Linked DNA regions of Homo sapiens: all the other regions are linked to region 3. The links are contacts of gene promoters, found by promoter capture Hi-C in human tissues and cell types (Jung and others, 2019). All regions are on one chromosome and are shown on one strand. Each heading gives the region's core, a stretch centred on a gene start or on the middle of the fragment in contact. The rest is flanking DNA. Distances are from core to core; before and after follow the strand shown.

Region 1 (5,118 bases), core at 1,126-3,625, 270 kb after region 3:
AACCCTCATAAGAATGACATCAGAGGCTTCACACTGCATGGGAAATGGACTTAATAAAATACCCTACCCAAGTTACTAAATAAATAAGCAAGTAACATGAACAAGCACAGGAAACGGAGGAAAATCACTATCTAAAGCTGCTACAATACAGAAATGGCCTTACAAGAAATAGCAAAGGAAGTTCTTCAGGCTGAAAGCAAGTGACCACAGTAATTTAAATCTACATAAAGAAACCAAGCACTAAGAGAGGTGATTATGTAATTATGAAAGATAGCATAAATGCATATTTCTTCTCCTTTCTCTTAACTTACTTAAAAAAATATGGTATAAAGCAATATGTGTGTAATTATATTGCAGACCTATAACATGTAGAAATATAATATACTTGATCATAACAGCAGAAAGGAGGTAGGTGGACAAAGCTGTATTATAGCAAGGAAAGGACACCATATGCTCACTGAAAACTATAGGAAAAGATGAACAAGAAATAGCAAATTAGCTGGTTAATATTACAACCCCCCCAAAATATATGCTTGCTTTCTTTTTTTTTTATTATACTTTAAGTTTTAGGGTACATGTGCACAACGTGCAGGTTAGTTACATATGTATACATGTGCCACGTTGGTGTCCTGCACCCATTAACTCGTCATTTAACATTAGGTATATCTCCTAATGCTATCCCTCCCCCCTCCCCCCACCCCACAACAGGCCCTGGTGTGTGATGTTCCCCTTCTTGTGTCCATGTGTTCTCATTGTTCAATTCCCACCTATGAGTGAGAACATGCGGTGTTTGGTTTTTTGCCCTTGCGATAGTTTGCTGAGAATGATGGTTTCCAGCTTCATCCATGTCCCTATAAAGGACATGAACTCATCATTTGTTATGGCTGCATAGTATTCCATGGTGTACATGTGCCACATTTTCTTAATCCAGTCTATCATTGTTGGACATTTGGCTTAGTTCTAAGTCTTTGCTATTGTGAATAGTGCCACAGTAAACATACGTGTGCATGTGTCTTTATAGCAGTATGATTTATAATCCTTTCGGTATATACCCAGTAATGGGATGGCTGGGTCAAATGGTATTTCTAGTTCTAGATCCCTAAGGAAGCGCCACACTGACTTCCACAATGGTTGAACTAGTTTACAGTCCCACCAACAGTGTAAAAGTGTTCCTATTTCTCCACATCCTCTCCAGCACCTGTTGTTTCCTGACTTTTTAATGATAGCCTTTCTAACTGGTGTGAGATGGTATCTCATTGTGGTTTTGATTTGCATTTCTCTGATGGCCAGTGATGATGAGCATTTTTTCATGTGTCTTTTGGCTGCATAAATGTCTTCTTTTGAGAAGTGTCTGTTCATATACTTTGCCCACTTTTTGATGGGGTTGTTTGATTTTTTCTTGTAAATTTATTTGAGCTCATTGTGGATTCTGGATATTAGCCCTTTGTCAGATGAGTAGATTGCAAATATTTTCTCCCATTCGTGGTAGGTTGCCTATTCACTCTGATGGTAGTTTCTTTTGCTGTGCAGAAGCTCTTTAGTTTAATTAGATCCCATTTGTCAATTTTGGCTTTTGTTGCCATTGCTTTTGGTGTTTTAGACATGAAGTTCTTGCCCATGCCTGTGTCCTGAATGGTATTGCCTAGATTTTCTTCTAGGGCTTTTATGGTTTCAGGTCTAGCATTTAAGTATTTAATCCATCTTGAATTAATTTTTGTATAAGGAAGGGATCCAGTTTCAGCTTTCTACATATGGCTAGCCAGTATTCCCAGCACCATTTATTAAATAGGGAATTGTATCCCCATTTCTTGTTTTTGTCAGGTTTGTCAAAGATCAGATGGTTGTAGATAAGCAGCATTATTTCTGAGGGCTCTGTTCTGTTCCATTGGTCTATATCTCTGTTTTGGTACCAGTACCATGCTGTTTTGGTTACTGTAGCCTTGTAGTATAGTTTGAAGTCAGGTAGCGCAATGCTTCCAGCTTTATTCTTTTGGCTTAGGATTGACTTGGCCATGCAGGCTCTTTTTTGGTTCCATATGAACTTTAAAGTAGTTTTTTCCAATTCTGTGAAGAAAGTCATTGGTAGCTTGATGGGGATGGCATCGAATCTACAAATTACCTTGGGCAGTATGGCCATTTTCACGATATTGATTCTTCCTACCCATGAGCATGGAATGTTCTTCCATTTGTTTGTATCCTCTTTTATTTCATTGAGCAGTGGTTTGTAGTTCTCCTTGAAGAGGTCCTTCACATCCCCTGTAAGTTGGATTCCTGGGTATTTTATTCTCTTTGAAGCAATTGCGAATGGGAGTTCACTCATGATTTGGCTCTCTGTGTGTCTGTTATTGGTGTATAAGAATGCTTGTGATTTTTGCACATTGATTTTATATCCTGAGACTTTGCTGAAGTTGCCTATCAGCTCAAGGAGATTTTGGGCTGAGACAATGGGGTTTTCTAGATATACAATCATGTCATCTGCAAACAGGGACAATTTGACTTCCTCTTTTCCTAATTGAAAAAAAAATACCCTTTATTTCCTTCTCCTGCCTGATTGCCCTGGCCAGAACTTCCAACACTATGTTGAATAGGAGTGGTGAGAGAGGGCATCCCTGTCTTGTGCCCATTTTCAAAGGGAATGCTTCCAGTTTTTGCCCATTCAGTATGATATTGGCTGTGGGTTTGTCATAGATACCTCTTATTATTTTGAGATACGTACCATCAATACCTAATTTATTGAGAGTTTTTAGCATGAAGCGTTGTTGAATTTTGTCAAAGGCCTTTTCTGCATCTATTGAGATAATCATATGGTTTTTGTCGTTGGTTCTGTTTATATGCTGGATTATTTTTATTGATTTGCATATGTTGAACCAGCCTTGCAGCCCAGGGATGAAGCCCACTTGATCATGGTGGATAAGCTTTTTGATGTGCTGCTGGATTCGGTTTGCCAGTATTTTATTGAAGATTTTTGCATCGAAACAACAATATCCCTGATGAACACATCAGGGATATTGGTCTAAAATTCTCTTTTTTTGTTGTGTCTCTGCCAGGCTTTGGTATCAGGATGATGCTGGCCTCATAAAATGAGTTAGGGAGGATTCCTTCTTTTTCTATTGATTGGAATAGTTTCAGAAGGAATGGTACCAGCTCCTCCTTGTACCTCTGGTAGAATTTGGCTGTGAATCCATCTGGTCCTGGACTTTTTTTGGTTGGTAAGCTACTAATTATTGCCTCAATTTCAGAGCCTGTTATTGCTCTATTCAGAGATTCAACTTCTTGCTGGTTTAGTCTTGGGAGGGTGTATGTGTCGAGGAATTTATCTATTTCTTCTAGATTTTCTAGTTTACTTGCATAGAGGTGTTTATAGTATTCTCTGATGGTAGTTTGTATTTCTGTGGGATCGGTGGTGATATCCCCTTTATCATTTTTTATTGCGTCTATTTGATTCTTCTCTTTTCTTCTTTATTAGTCTTGCTAGCAGTCTATCAATTTTGTTGATCTTTTCAAAAAACCAGCTCCTAGATTCATTGAATTTTTGAAGGGTTTTTTTGTCTCTATTTCCTTCAGTTCTGCTCTGATCTTAGTTATTTCTTGCTTTCTGCTAGTTTTTGAATGTGCTTGCTCTTGCTTCTCTGGTTTTTTTAATTGTGATGTTAGGGTTTCAATTTTAGATCTTTCCTGCTTTCTCTTGTTGGCATTTAGTGCTTTGAATGCGTCCCAGAGATTCTGGTATGTTTTGTCTTTGTTCTCATTGGTTTCAAAGAACATCTTTATTTCTGCCTTCATTTCGTTATGTACCCAGTAGTCATTCAGGAGCAGGTTGTTCAGTTTCCATGTAGTTGAGCAGTTTGCAGTGAGTTTCTTAATCCTGAGTTCTAGTTTGATTGCACTGTGGTCTGAGAGATAGTTTGCTATAATTTCTGTTCTTTTACATTTGCTGAGGAGTGCTTTACTTCCAACTATGTGGTCAATTTTTGATTAGGTGCGGTGTGGTGCTGTGAAGAATGTATATTCTGTTGATATGCTTGCTTTCTTTTCCTCTCTCAGCTCCTTTAAAAGACATAAAATTATATATTAAGTAATAATTAACAACCCCATTAAAAAGTGGGCATAGGACATGAACAGACACTTCTCAAAAGAAGACATTTATGCAGCCAAAAAACATATGAAACAAGCTCAGCGTCACTGATTGTTAGAGAAATGCAAATCAAAACCACAGTGAGATACCATCTCATGTCAGTCAGAATGGCAGTTATTGAAAAATCAAGAAGCAACAAAAGCTCTCCAGGCCATGAAGGGATAGGAATGCTTTTACACTGTTGGTGGAAATGTAAATTAGTTCAATCATTGTGGAAGACAGTGTGGCAATTCCTCAAAGACCTAGAACCAGAAATATCATTTGACTTAGCAATCCCATTACTGGGTATATACCCAAAGAAATATAAATTATTCTGTTATGAAAATATATGGACATGTATATTCATTGCACTATTCACAATGAAAAAGACATGGAATCTACCTAAATGCCCATCAGTAATAGACTGAATAAAGAAAATGTGGTACACATACACCATGGAATACCACGCAGCCATACAAAGGAAAAAGATCATGTCCTTTCTAGGGACATGAATGGAGCTGGAAGCCATTATCTTAAGCAAACTAACACAGGAACAGAAAACCAAACACCACATGTTCTCACTCATAAGTGGAAGCTGAACAATGAGAACACGTGGACACAGGGAGAGTAACAACACACACTGGGGCCTGTTGGAGGAGGTGGCAGGGGAAGGGAGAGCATCAGGAAAAATAGCTAACGCATGCTGGCCTTAATACTTAGGTGATGGGTTAATACTTAGATGATGGGCAGCAAACCACGGTGGCACACATTTACCTATGCAATGAGCCTGCACATCCTGCACATGTACCCCAGAACTTAAAAGTTAAAAAAGAAACGTTTTTGAGCCACTAGGGACACCATTAAGAAAGTGTATTCGTCCATTTTTATGTTGTTGATTGATAGACATACCTGAGACTGGGCAATTTACAAAAGAAAGAGATTTAATGGACTTACAGTTCCACGTGGCTGGGGAGGCCTCACAATCATGATGGAAGGTGAAAGGC
Region 2 (5,264 bases), core at 721-3,220, 440 kb after region 3:
TTTTTAACATGGGGGTCATTAGCTACTGACCCTCCCTTGTGGGTGTGATAAGCATTCAGCAGCCCCCAGATAGAGATGAGGCCAAGTTTCCTTCTACCCCTCACTCTCCCATACGTACACAGACCTCAGGTAACTAGGGCCCCTTCCTTTTTTGGCTTTATGCATAGTCAGCAAAGTTGGGTGTGGAAAGGGTGGGTCATATGCATAAGGAATAAATTTGAAGGAGCCAGCAGATGCCCCAGTGCACAGCCAGGGTCAGTCCTGCATATAACAAAATGAAGTCCTTCACTACATCATTCCCCGGCACAGGCAATGGGGCGAATGTGTAATTATTCATTCTTGCAAAAATGAAGTGAGAAGAGCAATGATTCAGCACCCAGGTAGCTTCTGAATTTTCAAATGATTCTTCTTCAAGGGCCACCCACTTTTTAAATATAATAATTTTCTCCTGTTTTGAGAGACCTACCCAGAATCACTTCCAAGTTCTGGGTTATTCATCAGGTAAATCCTTCTCTATCTCTCTCCCACCTCTCCTCTAATCTCCCTTTTGCTCTGAAGGAAACCCCCAATTGCCCTGAAGCATTTTCTTCTTTGAATACCCCCTTTCCTTTAAGCTCTTCCTCAAAATCCTTCTTCCTTTTTTTTTAACAGTAGATGTGGATGCCCTAATATACATGGAACCCAAAAGAATGGGAACTAGTGCTATTACCTTAAAGGACAAGAGGTGTAAGATCTTTCTAGGGCAGCACAGAAAAGAAACGGGAGGAACAATTTACTTTCCATGTTAGTATTCCTGGATTCCTAACCTTTCACACGTGCAGCCATCACTGTGGGAACACTGAGGACTTCAGGAATGGCTCTTGACAGGAGCCCAGCAGTGCCAACACACTCTTACTACTGTAAATGTTAAATAACAAGAAAACAATTCGGTTTCTGAGATGCACTCAGTGGGTGTTTATTCTTTGCAATCATTATTGGCATCTGAAGTCCTGGGTTGAGGAATTAGAATCAACAGTTCTTTTTCCATTTCAATTTTTGCAACATGGTGGGAATAATTTCTTTTTCGGTTTGCTTTGAATTATAGGCAAAAGCTCCCAAGTGCGTGGTTGAGATGTTACCAAGGTGTTCACATTCAAATTTCCTAGTAGGAGGTACTCGGTGAGGTTCTGGAATTGATAAAGCTTTTCAGTCTGGCACTACTTGACCTCTGGCAGTAGATCCATCCAGTCCCATAAAAGCTAGAGTCTGAGGGGGCAAAGTCAAGAGCCCAGGTCAGGATCAGCCATTTCAGAAGGATACACAATGCTGCCTCGACAATAACAGCAGCCTCTTTTTGGTCAATTAATGTTCTCCCAATGGTCCATGAGTGCAAATGACTCCAGATAGTGATGGTTCAGCAGAATAAATCAGAAAAGCTTCCTATTCTCCCTGTTATTAGAAGGGTATGACTTTCAAAGTAATAAAGCACATCATTTTCATTTTATCTCCCCATGAAAGAGCTTGGACCAAACATCCCTAACGCACAGCTCCCAAAATGCAAATTATTTTCAGCTAAGCTTCAGAGTTGATTTTCTTTTTCCTGATGGCCTCCTTTCTTGATTAAATCCTGGAGCTTCGTTTGATACATTAAGTCAGGACTAGAGTCCCTGAAAACAAACCAGATTTAAAATACCATTCATTATCTAGGAAGCTGTTTCTTTCCCTGATTTGTTTGCTGAAAAGGAGAGTGAAAGATGAGAGGAGAACCAAAGAAAAAAAAGCAGGACAATGGAGAGAAGAAGGAGATGAAAGGAGAAAGGGAGATGACAAATACAGTAAATAGATTTGAAAACAGATGTGCAATGAATGAAAATCTGTCCAATTATTTTTCTCAATTAAAAAGTGTCTCATCCTGAATATCTGTATCAGATTCTTACCTATATTCATGTATTATTTTCTGCACAGAGAATACTGCATAAACATCTCAGCAATGGATTTACTTGATCAGAAATTATACTAATGACGATGCTTCAATACAAGATTTCTAAAAATGTGGAGAATTTTTGGTAGTTTTTGAAACAAAGGATTTAAAAAGTAACAAACAGCGTTCAGCATCATGATCATTGTCAGGGTCATCATTCGTTATTGTCGTCAGTGCCACTGTTGATATTAGTAAACCTGCAGCATAACTATTTTGATCCCTAAAGCAAGCAAGAGTTTGAATTAGGTTGAAATTACCATCTCAGGATTGGGTTTAATGCTTTTTCTGAATATACAGAGAAACTTAGGTGGCATTTAACAAATGAGTTAATTTCTTCCTTTAACGATGCTTAATTAGCAAACATCAGGCAATTGGAATGAGTAGGCAGCTTCTACAGTAGAGAACAAGGACTTAAAAAGCCAGTAATTCCCAGCACTGTAGAAATCACTAAAAGGATGTTGAGGGTTTTTTTTCCAATTTAGTCTTGTTGAAAACAATATGAAATAAACATTTTCTCACTTTCAAGAAACCACCTCTATCCTCTAGACCTTGATCATGGTGGGGAGGATGACAAGTAGCTTGGGACTTGGTGCTTATTAAAGGCTTGACAGACATGAGCTGAATCAAAATCTGAACAAGAAGAACAAATAGTTTTAAGGGACCCCATCTACATCACAGCTCCTGCCCCATCACCACAATCTCAAAAAAACTTCTCTCCTATAATCCCACTATTAGCAAAGCATTCTTTTAATTTAACAAGCTTCTATTTAAAAAGTGAAAACAAGTCATTGGGAAGGTTAACGTAATTGGCAGTAAGGAGACGTTCATCGTTCCTCCAGCAGTGTAACTTAGTTCTCAAGTGTTTGTTTCTTGCTAACGTAGAGAGAAGTTCTTGCAGGCCGGGCGCGGTGGCTCACGCCTGTAATCCCAGCACCTGGGGAGGCCGAGGCGGGTGGATCACAAGGTCAGGAGATCGAGACCATCCTGGCTAACACGGTGAAACCCCGTCTCTATTAAATATACAAAAAAAAAAATTAGCCGGGCGTGGTGGCGGGCGCCTGTAGTCCCAGCTACTCAGGAGGCTGAGGCAGGAGAATGGCGTGAACCCGGGAGGCGGAGCTTGCAGGGAGCCGAGATCGCGCCACCGCACTCCAGCCTGGGTGACAGAGGGAGACTCCGTCTCAAAAAAAAAAAAAAAAAAAAAAAAAAAAAAAAAAAAAAAAAAAAAAAAATTCTTGCAGTGAAGAAGTAGGATTTCTACTAGCATTAGACCTGGGGAGTTTTTAGGACTCACAGTAGAAGGAAAGATTTGGGCATGGCACAGAGGTGGAGGCTCTGGAAACTAGAGCACATAGCCTACCTGGGGGAAAGAAGGAGGGAGAGAATCTGCCTCAAATCATATTCGGGTTGGTTTCCACACACCCAGGCTGATGCCCATCTGCCAATTTAGTCCCACCCCCAGCCACTCAAGGCCCAATCAGGTGAGAGGAAGGTGGAGCTTAAGTATCTCCCCCCTCCCCCGACAACCTTCCCGGGCTGTTTCTTTGGCTGCCAGCCTGACTTACACACAATTCACCAGTTCTGATGTCTCATTTCAGAAGCCTGAACTTCCTGTTTTCTACCAGCATGTCTCCGTTCTCATGTGCACTATGTTTTGTTTTGTTTTTGTACACTATGCTTTTAAACCTCAATTATTGGTCCCATGCCAAAGTTACTTTTCCAATAAACTATTATTAAACATTCTTTAGGACGGGTTCCTACCATCCTCTTTTCTTCCCATACTTGACTCTAGCACTCCACTAACCGTCAACGATCCTCCTTAGTAGAATTTTTAACCTGGCTTTCCATGGATTTTTCTAACATCTACTTTTCTTCGATGCTAAACTTTCCTGGATCTTTGGGGCCTTTTGTGTCTTTGAGCATACCAGTACTGTGGCTGCAGGTGAACATGCCCCATAGGTGATGAGCAGTTCACCCAGGCCTCTTTGGCCTCACCTAGTGTCAGTGGCCTTGATGGCTCACAATGCTTGCCTCGTGTAGGAGCGTGGGGCAGCTGGGGAGGAGGAGGATGTGCATTGTCTATTGCCAGATTCTGCCTCCTTCTCTGAGTCTGGGAAAGAAGAGTAGGAAACTTCGAAGAGTGGCTAAAGCCCCACCTAGGGAGTCAGAGAGACCTGGATTTGAATTCTAGCTCTGCCACTTGCTGGCTATGTAACCTTAGAAAAATTACTTAACATCTCTAAACTTCAATGGCGTCATCTTTAAGGTAGGCAAAATAATCCTGTTTCCTAGGATTATTTGATGAATCAAATGAGATGACAACATATGTGGCAATCCTATATACATAGACAACGTAGTATATGCAGAGTGTTAGTTATTGCCTAATTATCTGTCATGCCTCGCCAATTCCTCAAATGTGACAATGAGCTCTTGGGTACAGTTTTGCCCACGGTCTGCCCCAAGCATAATGGAGCCTTCCATGAATATCCAAATCCAGCCCAAGTGGTTTGTGTTGTTCTTCCCCTTTTTCATGAACAGAGCTGCTCTGCAATGGGCAAGATGGATGCCCTTAAATCCAGCCTCTCGGGGTTTTTTATTTTTTTAAGTCTTCTCTTTTGGCTAATGGTTAATAAAATAACTCTGTTTTCCCACAATGCACACTTCCTTTTCAGCTGCCACTTTCTGAACTAATCACTTACTCTAGTCACTAGTGGCTCCTATCCACAGCCATGTAGCTGGCATCTCTCCCCATACACTCCTGTGGCATTCATATTTCATGAAGAACAATGGGGTAGGACCATACAGCAGCTCTTGGAAAAAAATAAAGTGTAGAAAAGAATGAAATAAAATGGCCTGCTTACTTGGAGGAAAATGTTACTAGGAAACTAGCCTAGAGCCAGTTTCCTCAGGGGTGGTTTATAGAAAAGGATTTATTATACAACAAAAAGCTTTTATTTATTATTTTTCCAGCAAGCATTTTTGCATTATTATTCATTTGGCAACTCAGCTGGGTATTTGGAGGTGACAGCTTGCCAATTTTTTTCACAAACATTTTGGACTTTAACATCTTAATCTGAAATGATTGCAGTAATTACAAGGGGGTAATGGGTAGGAAGATGTGGGGAAGGTAGCAGCATGTTGAAGACGCTAATAGTAAGAGGAACTGTGCTAAATATGTAGTTCTGACAGTTGCAGATAGAACGTTTGCCTGCTGATGAATAGCAGAAACAAGACATCAATGTTATTGCCCACTTTTGAGGTTTTGTCACCATTTAAAAAATGATCACACCTATGCAAGCCACAA
Region 3 (4,753 bases), core at 1-2,500:
CAGGTCCACCAGGTTGAGGGCGCTGCGCGCGAAGCGCCTCAGGTCGGGCGTGGAGGCTAGGCGCAGCAGGTACTCGAGCGTGAAGAAGCCCATGCACAGCATCTCCACGTGCTCCAGGATGGGCCGCAGGTCTGGGCCGCCCTCGCCCTGCCCCGAGTGCTGCTGCATCTCCTCCACGGTGTTGAGCGCCAGCGCCACCACGGAGACGAGCACGAAGGTGCTGGAGGCCACCCCGATGGCCTTGGCGGCCACCGAGGAGAATGGCTTCTCCATGAGGTTCCAGAGGCGGCGCCGCTGCGGGCCGTAGAAGCGCATGTCGCGGAAGAGTTCCTCCGCCTCCTCGACCTGCGCCTGCGCGCGCAGCTCGTGCTGGATCTTGAGCCGTTCGCTCAGCTCGTCGCGCCGCTCCTCGAAGCAGATGCGGCAGCAGCGTGGCGTGTACTTGAGCCGCACGCCCCAGTAGCCCAGCTCCTCCAGGAAGCGGCGCGGACACAGCCCGTCGAGCACCAGCAGCACCCCGGACAGGTAGAAATTGTAGACCAGCTGGAAGACGGCCGGGTCGCGGTCGAAGAAGTATTCGTCTGTCTGCTCCTCGTAGTCGTCGCACAGGCTTAGCTGGCGGCTGCGGCTGGTGGAGGTGGCCAGGCGACCTAGGCGCGTCTTGGGGAAGCCGGCCAGCTCGCAGTAGTCCAGCTGGTAGCTGTGGCCACCCACGTTCACATTCAGCGTGGACAGCAGGGCCGGAGGGTCGCTGGGGCCCTCGGGCTTGGCGGTGGTGACCTCCCCTGCCTGCTGGTCCTCTTCTGCCAGGTCGTCCTTCCACTGGTCCTCCTCCTCGCCGTCTTCGTCTTCCTCGATGTAGTAGTTATAGTTGCCCTCTGTCCAGCCGTGGATGCTGGCCTGGGAGCCGGAACGGGCACCCAGGGAGCAAATGCTCCTGCGGTGTTGGCTGCCCTCATTCTCCGTCGTGTTCCAGGGCCTGTAGCTCCAGGACCGTCTCCTCTCACTCTGTTTGAGCATGGCTGCGGAAAGTGGACGCCTAGCTTTTTCCTCCTGGCTGTGGTAGGGGTCCCTCACCTGCTCACTGCCTCTAGGAGGATGGATCACGTGGCCTGCACTGTCTTAGAGAGGCCAGCCCGGACCAGCACAGCTAGGGGCTCAGACATTGCCACCGGAGCTGCCCCTTCTCAGGTCCTGGGCAGGCCAGCCCAGCCTGCAGGGTCTGAACGCAGTCAGCTGTTGACTGCTCTAATCTTGCTGATTTGGAAGAAGCAAGTGTTAGGAGGGATTTAGAACCTCTTAGCCCATTTCCTCCCCCACTCCCTTGACCCTGTGAGGTAGAGGATGATTATGTGGTCTTAAATCTCTAGGTAATCAGAAGAAGGCAGAGATTATTGCTAATAAAAATGTCGGTCAACCTCGCTCTTAGGAAGCGCTCAGTGTATGTGTGCTGAGATGAAATCAACTGAATTAGCTATAGAATACGGATGCCTGTGTCTTCAGCTTCATGGTTGAGATGGTAGCCTCTGCCCTAGGTAAACTCACCATTAGCAGGGATGACACATAGCAACGGAACAAAGCTGACTTCATGACAAGTCAGTTTCCCTCTCAGCGTAACTCTTCGTTTAGAGCATATAAGATCTAAAGCCATCTCCTTCTTGTCCATTCACATGATCACATTTTTTTTTTTTTTTCAAATGGATTCTCCCTGGGGCACTGTTCAGGTCCAGTCGGATCTTTGAGTCAGCTTCAGCTTCTCTCTCTCCTTTTTATCTCCTCCCTTTCTCTTAAAGGATAGAGACATGTTTCAAGGTAGAATTCCAGGAATGGTAGGAAGACGTTTTTAGGGCCTCACAACCCTGCTCAGCAATATTAGGCCATATTTAAAGGGAGCCTGACTTCCACCCAAAAAAAAAGGGTCTTCTTCATCCTTCAAAACATCACTTTAAAAAAAAAAAAAAAACCCTTTTCATGATTAAGGCAATGTGCAAATGCTGGATATGCAAACACGATGGAGACACAGTTGTAGCAGTCAAAGAACTCTTGGTTTTGTTGGGGATATAAACATGCAAGGATAACAAAAGATGCAATAAATACTGGGGAGGAGAGAAGCAGGAGGGATTTGCTTTGAGCAGGGAATTGGTTTTTCTATTCAATTTATTTTGCATAGCTAATACACATTCATGATAAAAAATTGTAAAGGTAAAAAGACATATTACAGTAGAAAGTTTATGTCTTTCCCACCCATAATTTCAAGACATCAGGTGTACCTCAAGGAAGCAACCACTATTACTACCTTTTGGCTATCCTTCCAGAAATATTCTAAACATATACAAGCAAAAATATACCTACCTTTATCCATCATCTCAGTACCTCTTCATTATTAATAGAAATCATAGAATGCTATATACTTTGCCTTTTCCAGTTGGCCATATAAAAGATGTTTTCATATTTGAACACAAATATCTACCTTATTTTAAAAATAGCCACTGAGCACTTTCCTAATGACAGACATTCAGAATGTTTCTACCTTTGCTTTTATGGACAATTATGCAACAAATACCTTATATGTACATCACTTTACACATGTTCAAGATATATAAAGGATAAATTCTTAGAGGTGAGATTACTAGGTCAAAGATTGCACATTTGTAATTTTGATTAGTAGTGCTACATTTCTCTCCATAAAAGTTTTACCAATTTACAATTCATCAACGGTTGAAAATGTCTTATACTTTTTTAACTCTACCAATTTTGTAAGTGAAAAATGATGTGTGGGTTAATTTGTATTTCTTATAAATGTGATTGAACACTTTTTCATGTGATTAAAAGCTATTTCTTTTTCTGGGAACTGTCTGTTCATCGACTTTGCCTATATTTTCCACTGAGTTGTTTACATTTTTCTTATTGATTTGTAGGAGAGCTTAATACATTATGAAAAAAGACCCTTTACTTGTGATATGGATTGCACCTTTTTTCGGTTTTAACTTTAATATTTTTTCCATGTAAAAATCTTTATTTTATGATTTCTGGGTGTTGTGTAGTATTAGAAAAGGCTTCACCTCTCTGTAAATAAAACTTTTCTTTTTATAGTTTTAACATCAGAAATTAATTTTGATGTAAAGAGTGAAGTAGGGGCCTAACTTTATTTTCCAAGCTTTTATCCAGATGTTTCAACACATTAATTGCATAATCCATCATTTCCTCACTGATTTGTGGTACTATCTTTGTCACTTAGTTGAGTTTTAACTATGCTTCAAAGTTGTTGAGACGGGTAACGTTATGAGGTCTGCATCTGCTAGTGTGGCATTCACTGATGTTGTTTAGCTTGCAATAGGCCTCAGACCTACAAGCTTATGGTAAAGCTTCTTACCAGGCTTAGCCTTTAAGTTCCTAAATGTATTTCTAGCGTTCCCTTTTTGGTATACAATATTGATGTTGTTTTGCTAGCCACACACTTAATTGCTTTCCAAGTCTATCTTTTCTTTATATTGTGCTGAGTACTGCCATAATAGATTTTGCATGTTGCATAAATTCACCTTTTCTCTTCAGAACCAATTATACTATTATAAAAAGTAAAGACTGGGTGTGGTGGCTCACGCCTGTAATCCTAGCACTTTGGGAGGCCGAGGTAGGTGGATCACTCGAGGTAAGGAGTTTGAGACCAGCCTGGCCAACTTGGTGAAACCCCATCTCTACTAAAAATACAAAAATTAGCCGGGCTGGGCATGTTGGCGGGTGCCTGTAATCCCAGTTACTCAGGAGGCTGACACACAAGAATTGTTTGAACCCGGGAGACAGAAGTTGCAGTGAGCTGAGATCATGCTGCTATACTCCAGCCTGGGTGACAGAGTGAGACTTGGTCTCGACAAAAAAAAAAAAAGTAAAAATATCACCATTTTCATATTTTTATCTTCTTCTTTTTCAATTGAAATAATATACTACTTTTTTTTTTTTTTTTTGAGACAGAGTCTCACTGTGTTGCCCAGGCTGGAGTGCAGTGGCGTGATCTCGGCTCACTGCAATCTCCGCCTCCTGGGTTCAAGCAATTCTTCTGCTTCAGCCTCCTGACTAGCTGGGATTACAGGCGCCCGCCAGCATGCCTGGCTAATTTTTGTAATTTTAGTAGAGATGGGGTTTTGTCATGTTGGCCAGGCTGGTCCCGAACTCCTGATCTCAGGTGATCCACCCACCTTGGTCTCCCAAAATGCTGGGATTACAGGTGTAAGCCACCATGCCCAACCCATGTACTACCACTTATCCAGACTTTCAACACTTAAAAACTATGGAGTTAGTAATGTTTGTATGGCATCTAGAAGCTAAGCACAAACACCACATCCATACAGTAGATTGAGGAATATTACCTGGGTAGACCCCACTTAAGTGACTCTTACACCCCCGGTATGAGTAGTTGCTTGGATTTTGCCCTGATGTATATGCATGTAAGTGCAACATTAGATGAGTATACACATATATAGACTGTTTCTAATAAAACTGTCCAACAATGGTTGACCCATAATGTGGAAAACACCCTCTTTCTTTTTTTTAATTTAATTTTACCTTAAGTTCCAGGATACAAGTGCAGAACGTGTAGGATTGTTACATGGGTATACATGTGCCATGGTGGTTTGCTGCACCTATCAACCCGTCATCTAAGTTTTAAGCCCTGCATGCATTAGCTATTTGTCCTAATGCTCTCCCTCCCCTCACCCCTCATTCTGACTGGCCACGGTGTGTGTCGTTCCCCTCCCTG
Region 4 (4,714 bases), core at 1,186-3,685, 310 kb after region 3:
GCAACCCTGGTAATAGAGATAAAATTGCTTTATATATCACCCTTACAGTATTAGTGTTCTGAATATCACTTTGGACTTTTGTTTCAGGCTAAAGGAATCCCTTTAACTATTCCTGTAAGACAGGTCTAATGGTGATGAACTGACATCGTTTCTGTTTATCTGGGAAAGTTTTTATTTCTTCCTCATTTCTGAAGGACAGCTTTTCCAGGCAAAGTAATCTTAGTTGGTAGTTTTTTTTCCTTCTGCACTTTGTATATGTCATCCCACTCTCTCCTGGCTTGCAAGATTTCTGCTGAGAAATCTGCTGATAGATGTATTGAGACTCCCTTGAATCTGATATTTTTCTTATCTCTTATTGCTTTCAGAATTTTTGTCTTTGATTTTTGATAATTTAATTATGATGTGTCTTGGTGAACTTCCCTTTGGGTTGAATTTAATTAGAGACCTCTGAGCTTCCTTTACCTGAATGTTGTCATCTTTCCCCAGATATGGGAAAATTTCAGCCACTGTTTACTTAAATATGCTTTCTGGGCTCTGTTTTCTCTTTTCTCCTTCTGAAAATCTTAAGCAAATGTTCATTCTTTTGATAGTGACCCATAATTCACATAGGCTTTTTTTTTTCATTATTTCTGCTCTTTTGATTGTATAATTTCAAATGTCCTGCCTTCAAGCTCACAATAATATCTTCTGCTGAATCAAGTCTGCTGTTGAAGCTTCTATTAATTTTTTTTAGTTCAGTTGTTGTATTTTTTATCTCTAGGATTCTATTTGATTTTTAAAAATGATTCTGTTTCTTTTTAAAACTTCTCACTTTTCTTCATAAATTGTTTTTCAAATTGTATTTAATTTTCTATCGATATTTTCTTTTAGTTCACAAAGCTTCTTTAAGATAATCATTCTAAATTCCTTGTCAGTCATTTTATAGATCTCCATTTATTCAGGGTCCATTATTAGAGATTTATTAGTTGCTTTTTTTGGTGTGATATTTCTCTGGATCTTTGTAAACCTTACACTAGTGTCTACACATTTGAAGAAATGGCTACCTCTTCCAGTCTTTGCTAATTTTCTTCAGTAGCAATAAACCTTCACTGTTTAGTCTAGCCTGGGATTCTGGATGGCCCAGCTGGTGGCAAGTCCTGGCAGGCAGGCCTTGCTGTCAGATTCTCTAGCTGGGCTGTACTGCTGACCGCTTTGAGGTCAAATGGAAATGCTGGCTGTGCTCTAGAGTTTGATGAGATCACTGGCTGGACTCTGTAGTTAGGCAGAGCTATTAGCTAAGTTTTGTGATTGCCTCTGAGCAGAGTTACAGATTGTCTTCTCTCACTAGGTAATACTGCTGTTTGGAATCTGTAGATGAGCAAAGCCATGTGCTAAGCTCTGAGATTAGGCAAGATCTCAAGATCACTTCTCAGCTGGGGACAGTGGTTCACGCCTATAATCCCAGCAGTTTGGGAGGCTGAGGGAGGCAGATCACCTGAGGTCAGGGGTTTAAGACCAGCCTGGCCAACATGGTGAAATTCCATTTCTATGAAAATATAAAAATTAACCAGGCATGATGGCAGGTGCCTGTAATCCCAGCTACTTGGGAGGCTGAGGTGGGAAAATTGCTTGGACCTGGGAGGTGGAGGTTGCAGTGAGCTGAGATTGCACCACTGCACCCCAGTGTGGGTGACAGAGTGAGACTCCATCAAAAAAAAAAAAAAATGCTCTCCAGATTCCTCCTCTCTAGGCAGGGCATCTCTGAAAGAAAGGGAGCAGCCCCAGTCAGGGGCTTATAGATAAAACTCCCATCTCCCTGGGACAGAGCACCTGGAGGAAGGGATGGCTGTGGGTAGAGCTTCAGCAGACTTAAACATTCCTGCCTGCCAGCTCTGAAGACAGCAGCGGTTCTCCCAGCACAGTGCTTGAACTCTGCTAAGGGACAGACTGCCTCCTCAAGTGGGTCCCTGACCCCCATGCCTCCTGATGGGGAGACACCTCCCAGCAGAGGTCAACAGACACCTCATACAGGAGCGCTCCAGCTGGTATCTGGCGGGTGACCTCTGGGACGAAGCTTCCAGAGGAAGGAACAGGCAGCAATCTTTGCTATTCTGCAGCCTCTTCTGGTGATACCCAGGCAAACAGGTTCTGGAGTGGACCCCCAGAAAACTCCAGCAGACCTGCAAAGAGGGGCCTGACTGCTAGGAGAAAAACTAACAATAGAAAGCAATAGCATCAACATCAACAAAAAGGATGACCATGCAAAAACTCCATCCAAAGGTCACCAAGAGCAAAAACCAAAGGTAGATAAATCCACAAAGATGAGGAGAAAACAGTGCAAAAAGCCTGAAAATGCCAAAAACCATAATGCCTCTTCTTCTCCAAAGGATCACAACTCTTTGCCAGCAAGGGAACAAAACTAGACAGAGAATGAGTTTGATGAATTGACAGAAATAGGCTCCAGAATGTGGGTAATAACAAACTCCTTCAAGCTAAAGGAGCATGTTGTAACCCAATGCAAGTAAGCTAACAATCCTGATAAAAGGTTAGAGGAATTGCTAACTAGAATAACCAGTTTAGAAAAGGACATAAGTGACCTGATGGAACTGAAAAACACAGCACGAAAACTTCATGAAGCATACACAAGTATCAATAGCCAAATCGATCAAACAGTAGATCGATTGAAGATACCAGAGACTGAAGATCAACTTAAAGTATGAAGACAAGATTAGAGAAAAAAGAATGAAAAGAAATGAACAAAGCCTCCAAGAAATATAGGACTATGTGAAAAGACCAAACCTACAATTGATTGGTGTACCTGAAAGTGACAAGGAGAATAGAAACAAGTTGGAAAACACACTTCAGGATTTTATGCAGGAGAACTTCCCAAACCTAGCAAGACAGACCAACATTCAAATTCAGGAAAAGCAACCCCAAGACATAATTAACAGATTCACAAAGGTTGAAATAAAGGAGAAAATGTTAAGGACAGCCAGAGAGAAAGGTTGGGTTACCCACAAAGGGAAGCCCATCAGACTAACAGTGGATCTCTCTGCAGAAACCCTCAAGCCAGAAGAAAGTGGGGGCCAATATTCAACATTCTTAAAGAAAAGAATGTTCAACCCAGAATTTGATATCCAGCCAAACTAAGCTTCATAAGTGATGGGAAATAAAATTCTTTATGGACGAGCAAATGCTGAGAGATTTTGTCACCACTAGGCCTGCCTTACAAGAGCTTTTAAAGGAAGTACTAAATATAGAAAGGAACAACCAGTACCAGCCACTGCAAAAACAAACCAAAATGTAAAGACCGTCGACACTATGAAGAAATTGCATCAACTAATGGGCAAAATAACCAGCTAGCATCATAATGACAGGATCAAATTCATGTATAACAATATTAATGTTAAATGTAAGTGGGCTAAATGCCCCCATTAAAAGGGACACACTGGCAAATTTGATAAAGAGTCAAGACCCATCGGTTTGCTGTATTCAGGAGAACCAGCTCACGTGCAAAGACACACATAGGCTCAAAATAAAGGGATGGAGGAAGATTTACCAAGCAAATGGAAAGAAGAAAAAGCAGGGGTTGCAATCCTAGTCTCTGATAAACAGACTTTAAATCAACAAAAATCAAAAAAGACGAAGAAGGGCATTATATAATGGTAAAGGGATCAATGTAACAAGAAGAGGTAACTATCCTAAATATATATGCACCCAATACAGGAGCACCCAGATTCATAAAGCAAGTTCTTAGAGACCTGCAAAGAGACTTAGACTCCCACACAATCTTAGTGGGAAACTTTAACACCTCACTGTCAATATTAGACAGATCAATGAGAGAGAAAATTAACAAGGATATTCAGGACTTCAACTCAGCTCTGGACCAAGTGGACCTAATAGACATCTATAGAACTCTCCACCGCAAATCAACAGAATATACATTCTTCTCAGCACCACATCACACTTATTCTAAAATTGACCACATAATTGGAAATAAAACACTCCTCAGCAAATGAAAAAGAATGAAAATCATAACAAACAGTCTCTCACACCACAGTGCAATCAAATTAGAACTCAGGATTAAGAAACTCACTCAAAACCGCACAACTACATAGAAACTGAACAACCTGCTCCTGAATGACTACTGGGTAAATAACATATTTAAGGCAGAAACAAATAAGTTTTTTGAAACCAATGAGAACAAAGGCACAATGTACCAGCATCTCTGGAACACAGATAAGCAGTGTTTAGAGGGAAATTTATAGCACTAAATGCCCACAAGAGAAAGCAGAAAAGATCTAAAATCGACACCCTAACATCACAATTAAAAGAGCTAGAGAAGCAAGAGCAAACAATTCAAAAGCTAGCAGAAGACAAGAAATAACTAATATCAGAGCAGAACTGAAGGAGACACAGACACGGAAATCCCTTTTAAAAATCAATGAATCCAGCAGCTGGTTTTTTGAAAACAATAACAAAGTGTATAGACCAACAGCCAGAATAATAAAGAAGAAAAGAGAGAAGAATCAAATAGACACAATAAAAAATGATAAAGGGGATATCACCACTGATCCTACAGAAATACAAACTACTATCAGAGAATACTATAAACACCTCTATGCAAATAAACTAGAAAATCTAGAAGAAATGGATAAATTCCTGGACACATACACCCTCCCAAGACTAAACCAGGAAGAAGTTGAATCCCTGAATAGACCAATAACAAGTTCTG

What was found. The method cuts DNA at HindIII sites, captures the fragments that hold promoters and counts their contacts. A contact is called where the count stands out against the background at its distance.
Region 1: a fragment that was not itself captured here is called in contact with the fragment with the promoter of KCNV2 in region 3 in 1 of the 25 tissues and cell types used here (lymphoblastoid cells).
Region 2: a fragment that was not itself captured here is called in contact with the fragment with the promoter of KCNV2 in region 3 in 2 of the 25 tissues and cell types used here (aorta and dorsolateral prefrontal cortex).
Region 4: a fragment that was not itself captured here is called in contact with the fragment with the promoter of KCNV2 in region 3 in 3 of the 25 tissues and cell types used here (H1 embryonic stem cells, heart right ventricle and lymphoblastoid cells).

The regions. Positions count from the first base shown.
Region 1 is chr9:2,443,232-2,448,349 of GRCh38, reverse strand. All of the region lies in intron 3 of LOC101930053 (a long non-coding RNA gene), which reads left to right. Among named protein-coding and RNA genes, the nearest start is that of VLDLR, 180 kb to the left of the region's middle. The HindIII fragment of the contact is 8,299 bases long and covers 1-5,118 here.
Region 2 is chr9:2,269,857-2,275,120 of GRCh38, reverse strand. No RefSeq gene overlaps it. Among named protein-coding and RNA genes, the nearest start is that of SMARCA2, 260 kb to the right of the region's middle. The HindIII fragment of the contact is 3,689 bases long and covers 126-3,814 here.
Region 3 is chr9:2,714,007-2,718,759 of GRCh38, reverse strand. KCNV2 (potassium voltage-gated channel modifier subfamily V member 2) reads right to left here and starts at 1,250. Exons shown (of 2, transcript NM_133497.4): 1 at 1-1,250. The coding sequence starts at 1,020. The HindIII fragment of the contact is 9,328 bases long and covers 1-4,753 here.
Region 4 is chr9:2,400,383-2,405,096 of GRCh38, reverse strand. The region is part of intron 5 of LOC101930053 (a long non-coding RNA gene); the gene reads left to right. Among named protein-coding and RNA genes, the nearest start is that of VLDLR, 220 kb to the left of the region's middle. The HindIII fragment of the contact is 3,278 bases long and covers 797-4,074 here.